Linked DNA regions of Homo sapiens: region 2 is linked to region 1. The links are contacts of gene promoters, found by promoter capture Hi-C in human tissues and cell types (Jung and others, 2019). All regions are on one chromosome and are shown on one strand. The core of a region is centred on a gene start or on the middle of the fragment in contact, and the rest is flanking DNA. Distances in the headings are between cores, read along the strand shown.

Region 1 (4,356 bases), core at 435-2,934:
TCACAGAGACGAGTGAACTCTCTCCCCTCTTCCCCATACCCACACAACTCCAGCCACTCCAGCTTCCCTGCTGCTGCTGGGGCACACCAGCCTTGCTCCCGCCTCCATGCCTGCTGCACTCTCTGTGTGGCTTGCTATCCTTTTTTTTTTTTTTTTGAGACAGTTTCACTCTTGTTCCCCAGGCTGGAGTGCAATGGCGCGACCTCGGCTCACTGCAACCTCCGCTTCCCAGGTTCAAGTGATTCTCCTGCCTCAGCCTCCCAAGTAGCTGGGATTACAGGCATGTGCCACCACACTCGGCTAATTTTGTATTTTTAGTAGAGACAGAGTTTCACTATGTTAGCCAGGCTGGTCTTGAACTCCTGACCTCAAGTGATCCGTCCCCCTCAGCCTCCCAAAGTGCTGGGATTACAGGCGTGAGCCACGGCGCCTGGCCAGTGGCTTGCTATCCTTTAAGTGACACATCAGACCAGCCCTTCTTTTTTTAAAAAATAAAAAAATAAGACAGAGTCTCCCTCTGTTGCCCAGGCTGGAGTGCCATGGCCATGCTGGTCTCGAACTCCTGACCTCAGGTGATCCACCCTCTTCACTCTCCCAAAGTGCTAGGATTACAGGCATGAGCCACCGCACCCAGCCAGAACAGCCTTTCTTGATTATACTTCTTAAAATAGCCCCTCACACAAGGAAATTATGGAGGCCAGTGGATACGTTCATTATCTTGATTGTGGTGATCCAAGAGCCAGGAAGATTTGTTCTCTACTTGTCCAGCCTCATCTTTCCCTAACCTGCAGATGATACTCTCCCAGCTATGGGAAATGCATCCATTCCTGGGGAGCCATACTCTCTCTAACCTGAAGTCTCTGCACATGCTGTTCCCTGTCTGAAGACACACGTCTCCCACCCTTGCCTCCCTACCCCTGGTACACAAACTGTACTTCAGCCAGCCAGCTCCTGCCATCCATCCGCCTTTAAGTTTGATGGCATCCTTAGGAAGCCCCCTTAGCACTACACACAAGGCGCAGTTAGGTCTCTGCCCCTGGAGCCTTAGCTATGACTCCAATTCAAGCCTCCGATTTCCCCTTCCCTTGGCAGCTCAAGTCCTCCCAGTGCCTAGCACACTTCATGGTATAGACCAGGCGCTTAGAACGTACGGATGGATGGATTGGATGGATGGATGGATAAGTCTCAACCCCAAAACTACTACTTTCTGGCTCTGGAAAGAGCGGAGGGGCTTCCTAACAGTGTGGAAGAGTGAGCCTGATTCTAAGCACCTTCTTGTACAAGCCCCACGGCAGGGCTGGGGAAGGGGGTATCCTTGGGAGGTCCTCTTGGGGATGGGGAAGACCTGAAAGGACTCCCAGCTCCAGACAAGCCCTAGTTCCTGCCCCGGGAGGCAGGGGCCCTTCCTTCCGCCAGGGAAGCACCGGGACTCTAAGCCGGCCGGCCTGCTCTGTCTTACCCGCCCCGTACCCCCGCCCCCGTCTCGGGAGCGGGAGAGTGGTGGACTTTTCCCTACCAGACTCACAGCCCTCACGCCCGCACACACTGTGTTTGCGGAGAGGCCAGTACAACCTCCCCCAGTTTCCGGAGCCACTTGGCGCCCCCTCATTCCCGCTCCAGCAGCCCAAGCCTCGCTTCGCCCCTAGTGCCTCACCATCGCGCCAAGAAGCCAGGGCCCGGGAATTTCTTTTTCCGGTCCCGCAGGGTCAGCTGAGTCGACGATCACGTGACTTGGACTAACTGCCTCTGGGAGGGCGGGGCCTGCTCGAGTGAGGCCGGGAGCGGACCGCAGCCCGCTGGAGGTGCAGGGGGCGAAATGCTGGCGTCTCCTCCTCCGTCTCCCAGAATCCTTCCCTGGAAAAAACTGGCGCCAACCGCCAGTTTAACTGAGGACCGAATTAAGACATTAGGAAAGACAGTGGAAGTTATTTCATTTGTTTAACTTAAGGGGGTAGGATCCCGGGAGCCAGGGTGTTTCAGGTCATTGACACGTTTTCCACTGTTAAGCGAATAGCATTATTCACAGCTGCGGGCTGTGGCAAAAGACATTTTAAAAACTATTGACGTCTACTACACATACAGAAAATTGTACCTATTATAAAGCTTAATAAGTTTTCATCAACTGTACACCTCACATAACCAGCACCCAGGTAAGGAAATAAACCAGATAACTTCTTCAAGTGCATGGGTATTTTATTTCATTTTGATGAATCATCTAGGTGCCTAGCAAAAAGGGCTGTCATAATTACTTGCTCAGGAAAACTCCCTACAGCTTCAACATCAATAGATGCTTATCTTAATTTTTGCCAGTCTGATGGGGAAGAAAAATCGGTTGCTTAGGTTGCAGTGGTAGTCTGATTACTGGTAGCTCTGAGCTAATGGGTAGTCTAGAACAACTAAGTTTCCGACATTGACTTGAAGAGGCAAAAACAAAAAGACAAAACAACAAGAAAAATACATTTGAGAATAGACTAATAACCAGAGACAAAATTGAATACAGTCGTCCTTTGGTAACCTCAGGATGTTGGTTCCAGGACCCCAGAGATACCAAAATTCACAGATACTCAAGTCCCTGATATAATATGGCATAGTATTTGCAAATAACCTGTGCACATCCTTCCGTATACTTTAAATCATCTCTAGATTACTATAATACCTAATACAACGTAAATGCTTTGTAAATAGCTGTTATAAAGTTTTTTAATTTTTTTTTTTGAGACGGAGTCTTGCTCTGTTGCCCAGGCTGGAGTGCAGTGGCGCGATCTCCACTCGCTGCCAGCTCTGCCACCCGGGTTCACGCCATTCTCCTGCCTCAGCCTCCCGAGTAGCTGGGACTACAGGCGCCCGCCACTGCACCCGACCTGTGTTTTTTTATTGTTTTACTTTTTCCAAATATTTTCGATGCACAGTTGGTTAAATCCAAGGATCCAGAACCTCAGGATACAGAGGGCTGACTGTAGTTTGAGCTCTCTCCTCAATTCCATGCCTATCCCATGCAACAGGTGCAGCTGGTTTTATTGTTGCAGGCTTTCAGGTTTTTAAAAGACAGAGCCCATGACAATTAAACTGCACTATAAAATAGAAATGTAAAGTGTCCCCAATTCATGGTAAAATTGAGCTCATTTCTGAAGAGTTCTTTTACAAATCATAACCACTAGCCTGTTGAAAACAACAGTACGTTAAGTTACTAGACTATCCTAAACCATGTCAAAAAAATTTTTTAAGAATGTTAAGACCTTTAATCATAGCACTTTGGTAGGCCAAGGCCGGTGGATCGCTTGAGCCCAGGAGTTCTAGACCAGCTTGTGCAACATAGGGAGACCCCAGTCTCTACAAAAAATTACCCGCTTGTCCTGGTGCACACGTGTTGTCCCAGCTACCTAAGAGGCTGAGGTCAGAGGATCTCTTGAGCCTGGGAGGTGGAGGCTGCAGTGAACCATGATGGCACCACTGTACTCCATCCATCCTGAGCAACAGAAGGAGACCATCTCAGAAAAATAAAATAAAATAAAAATAAATAAATAAATAAATAAATAAATAAATAAAGGCTGGGCACGGTGGCTCATGCCTGTAATCCTAGCACTTTGGGAGGCCGAGGCAGGCAGATCACCTGAGGTCAGGAGTTCGAGAGCGGTGGCCTGGCTAACATGGCAAAACCTGTCTCTACTGAAAAAAAACAAAAAAAATTAGCAGGGTGTGGTAGTGGGTGCCTGTAATCCCAGCCAGTCAGGAGGCTGAGGCATGAGAATCGCTTGAACGCGGGAGGTGGAGGCTGCAGTGAGCCGAGATTGCACCGCTGCATTTCAGTCAGCTTGGGCAACAGTGTGAGACTCCGTCTCAAAAAAAAAAAAAAAAAAAAGATGATTTGACTATTTAGAGCCGTGGTTCTCACACATTAGAGTGCATCATCATCACCTGCAGGGCTTGTGAAACCGGCTGCTGGGCCTCACACCAGAGTTTCTAACTCAATAGGACTGAGGTGGGGCCTGAGCATTGCGTGTCTATATTCCCAGGTGACATTTGAGACCATGCTTTGAAAACCACTAGTGTAGGGAAATATACTACAGAATATGTTATGAATATTCTTGAGAATATGTATATATGTTAACTTAGGGTTTCTGTCCAGTGGAAAAGATAACACCCAAAGATGGCAGTTTTATTTCCCAATATGATTTTCTTTTTTTTTTTTGAAATGGAGTCTCGCTCTGTCACCCAGGCTGGAGTGCAGTGGCGCCATCTTGGCTCACTGCAACCTCCACCTCCTGGGTTCACGCCATTCTCCTGCCTTAGCCTCCCGAGCAGCTGGGACCACAGGCGCCCGCCACCACGCCGGGCTAATTTTTTTATATTTTTAGT
Region 2 (4,221 bases), core at 1,308-3,807, 80 kb before region 1:
TGTCTCAATCCATTAGTGCTGCTATAACAAAATACCTGAGACTGTATAATCTAAATAATAGCAGTTTATTTCTCACAGTTCTGGAGAAGTTCTGGGGGCTGGGAAATCTAAAATCAAGGTGCTGGCCGGGTGCGGTGGCTCACGCCTATAATCCCAGCACTTTGGGAGGCTGAGGAGGGCAGATCATTTGAAGTCAGGAGTTCAAGACCAGCCTGGCCAACATGGTAAAACTACCGAAGATACAAAAAAATGAGCCAGGCATGATGGCATGCACCTGTAATCCCAGTTACTCTGGAGGCTGAGGCACGAGAATCGCTTGAACTCAGGAGGTGGAAGTTGCAGTGAGCCGAATTTGTGCCACTGCACTCCAGCCTGGGTGACAGAGTGAGACCATGTCTCAAAATAAATAAATAGGCCAGACGCAGTGGCTTACGCCTGTAATCCCAGCACGTTGGGAGGCCGAGGCGGGCGGATCACGAGGTCAGGAGATTGAGACCAGCCTGGCCAACATGGTGACACCCCATCTCTACTAAAAATACAAAAATTAGCTGGGCGTGGTGGCAGGCGCCTATAATCCCAGTTACTCAAGAGGCTGAGGCAGGAGAATCGCTTGAACCCGGGAGGCGGAGGTTGTATTGAGCTGAGATCGTGCCTTTGCACTCCAGCCTGGGAGACAAGAGCAAGACTTCATCTAAAAAAATAATAATAATAATAAATAAAATAAATAATAAAATAAAATCCAGGTGCCAGTTGGTTTGGTGTCTGGTGAGGGCCTGAACTCTGTTTTTCGAGATGGTCCCTGAATGTGTGTCCTTACACTGGAAGGGAGAAGGGCCGAAGGGACTAACACTGGTTCACTCCAGCCCTTTTATAAGGTCCCTAATCCCATTCATGAGGGCTCCACAATCACTTTCTGAAGGCCTCACTTCTTAATATCATCATATCGGTGATTAAGTTTCGATGTAAGAATTTTGTGGGACACATTTCAGACCACAGCACCAGTTAATGATTGACTTGAATGTAAATGTTCCATTTTGCAACAAATCAAAAGACTATCTATGCCTGGCCAGGTGTGGTGGCTCACATCTGTAATCCCAGCACATTGGGAGGCTGAGGCAGGCGGATCAGTTGAGGTCAGGAGTTCAAGACCAGCCTGGCCAACATGGTGAAATCCCATCTCTACTAAAAATACAAAAAAATTAGTTGGATGTGGTGACATGCGCCTGGAATCCCAGCTACTCAGGAGGCTGAGGCAGGAGATATCACTTGAACCCAGGAGGCAGAAGTTGCAGTGACCCGAGATTGCGCCATTGCACTCTAGCCTGGGAGACAAAATGAGACTCCCATCTCAAAAAAAAAAAAAAGAAAAAGACTGGCTTAAATCACATCAAATGTTTATTTCTGAAATTTCTTAAACCTGATATTTTGTATAATTTTAAATATTTAGGCTTCAGTTAAACTACCAAAATAAAACTTAACGTATCTCAGAGTAAATAGGAAACACCTAGTGGGGATTTCTTTTGGGTGTCTCTGTCCTAAATCAGACTCATAGCTTAGCCTTTCCAACCTGTTCTTCTTTGTGATAGGTCAGTTTTTTTTCTCCCCCAGCCAAACTGTATCCAGCTTTAAAGATACTTTCCAAAAACAGTCATGGTATTTCAGGCAGAACATGGACAATCCTTAACAATGAGCTACCAAAAAAAAAAAAGCCACTATAAAACCCAGTGAAGTCTCATTTGATGCTCTGAACAGGGAAAGTTTAGAGTGAAGGTTGACACTTCACATTTAGCATGTTGTTTAACAACTTTTCACAAGCCAACCCTGACTTTCAGGAAGTGAAATGAAAATGGCAGGACTTATCTGAAGATCCACAGTCTAGAAAAAGCAACCACTGCTCTTTTGAGGGCTGCCATTTCAGTGGCATCACTGGAAAGTTTGACTGCCTGACATATTGGTAACCAGTTATTGGGGGTTAGGTCCCAACAGGTGTCTGGGTAAAAGGGAGTTAGGTCTGTGAAGGTGGGGAGGGAGAACAGGATGTAAAAATGAATTTGTTTTTCCATCCCACAAGGTGTTTGTGCCAAGGTGGCCATGTGTGTTAAAAGTCAGGGAATCTAGGCTGGGTGTGGTGGCTCACGCCTGTAATCCCAGGACTTTGGGAGGCTGAGGCTGGCAGATCACTTGTGGTCAGGAGTTTGAGACCAGCCTGGCCAATGTGGTGAAATCCTGTCTGTACTAAAAATACAAAAATTAGCCAGGCATGCTGGCGGGTGCCTGTAACCCCAGCTACTCAGGAGGCTGAGGCAAGAGAATCGCTTGAACCCCGGAGGCAGAGGTTACAGTGAGCCAAGATCGCACCACTGCACTCCAGCCTGGGCAACAATAGCAAAACTCTGTCTCTAAATAAATAAGTAAATAAAGTCAGGGAATTTCTTCTATAAGCCAAGAGGAAGTCTCTCAAAACTAGAAGGGAAAGGTGTTTTCCCCACGTCAGTCCAGCTTCAAAGACATTCTATTAGTGACCTGTGATCCTTCCCACCAAAACAACAATGAAGTGTTCTGTGTGCGATAACAACACTGCTTTAGAAAAAGCAAAACAAAATTCTGCATTTTTATAAAGCTTGATTTAAACAATGGTATTTCAAAATTTACAAACTTCATAACTTTATAGTTCAAACTTTACAGTCACCAGAAGTACACAGTTACCAAAAATGCACATGTTTCACTTGGCATCTCTAGCACCTTCAGCTTTCTGTGCCTGGTCTGTTTTGGCATCTCCATTTCCTGCAAGGTTATTCCCCTCCCTGCCAGTGTCAGCATTTTCCTTTTTCCCTTTGGGTACCTCCTCTCTCTCCTTTGCAGGGGACTTTTTTTTTTTTTTTTTTTTTCCTGAGACCGAGTTTCACTCTTGTTGCCCAGGCTGGTGTGCAATGGCATGATCTCGACTCACCGCAACCTCCGCCTCCTGGGTTCAAGTGATTCCCCTGCCTCAGCCTCCCGAGTAGCTGGCATTACAGACATGCGCCACCATGCCTGGCTAATTTTTGTATTTTTAGTAGAGATGGGTTTCTCCGTGTTGGTCAGGCTGGTCTCGAACTCCTGACCTCAGATGATCCTCCCACCTCTGCCTCTGAAAGTGCTGGGATTGCAGGTGTCAGCCACTGCGCCCAGCCTGCATCCTTTTTAGGGTTGGGCTCTGGCTTTGGAGGAGCAGGTTTAGCATACAACCTTGCGGATCTTCTCTGGGTTGTTCTTCACCTTGGCTCTATCTCCTTTAGCATCCCCTTCAGGCTTTCTCTTGGGTGTGGTGGTGATGTGGAAGGATGTAAGCGCTGAGTGCGGGATGCAGTGGCATGTGGGCTTTGATCGGTCCGAGAGTCACTCTTGACTGTTCTTCCTCAGTGCTCCGTGGCGGATCACTTTTGAATGCTGGCTCTCCCTTAGCTCCTCTATTCAGTCAGTTCCCCAATCCTGTCACTTCTACTACCCAAAAAGCTTTTTTATCTATGCAGTTCTCTCTGTTGTTCTGGGCCAGTACTATAATTCAAGCCACTGTTTTCACATGAGTTGTCCAGTTATTCCTGTAGCATACCTGGTCTTCCTACCTCCTTTCAATCTTTTCTGCTCTTGTGCCAATTTTTTCTCAACACTGCAGTCAAATTGCGTACACGAAAATGCAGATGATAAAAATCTAAATTGCTTTTTCACAAGATTTACAAATCCTTTCAGAATCTAGATCCTGCTTTTTTTTCTGTCTCATTTTGTTACTTTTCCTTCCTCTTCACTACAGATCCTCCAGCCAAACTAAACTGTTTTCAGATTTCTAAATATCCCATATCGTATCCTGTCTAGGATTTTACCCGTGCTGCCGCTTTTGATTTTCTTCACTGGTCTTCACTTTTGCTAGCTTATAGTCATCTTTAGGTCTCAGTTTATACATTACCTCCTGGGGAAGCCTCACTTTTTTTGGTGGAGAAGACGTGTCCTTCCCATGTCATCTCCAGGCATGGAGTGATTACCGGGTTACCCACTGTGTTATGATTCCTGACTACATACAAACAAATGTCTATAGACGAGGGGCTACAAATTATTTGTCATTGAATCCTTGGTACTCACATTGGGCCTGGTATGTTGCAGTTTAGTAGATACTTGTGAAATGAATTAATAAATGATATATCATTGTAATTATTCTTCACTGATCATTCTGTTCAAAATTTTCCA

What was found. The method cuts DNA at HindIII sites, captures the fragments that hold promoters and counts their contacts. A contact is called where the count stands out against the background at its distance.
Region 2: a contact is called between a fragment that was not itself captured here and the fragment with the promoter of COMMD4 in region 1, in 4 of the 25 tissues and cell types used here (H1 embryonic stem cells, adrenal gland, bladder and 1 more).

The regions. Positions count from the first base shown.
Region 1 is chr15:75,333,391-75,337,746 of GRCh38, reverse strand. COMMD4 (COMM domain containing 4) reads right to left here and starts at 1,684. Exons shown (of 8, transcript NM_017828.5): 1 at 1,655-1,684. The coding sequence starts at 1,657. RefSeq lists enhancers at 1,291-1,460, 1,801-1,850. The HindIII fragment of the contact is 27,503 bases long and covers 1-4,356 here.
Region 2 is chr15:75,414,522-75,418,742 of GRCh38, reverse strand. All of the region lies in intron 3 of SIN3A (SIN3 transcription regulator family member A), which reads left to right. Among named protein-coding and RNA genes, the nearest start is that of SIN3A, 35 kb to the left of the region's middle. The HindIII fragment of the contact is 5,110 bases long and covers 3-4,221 here.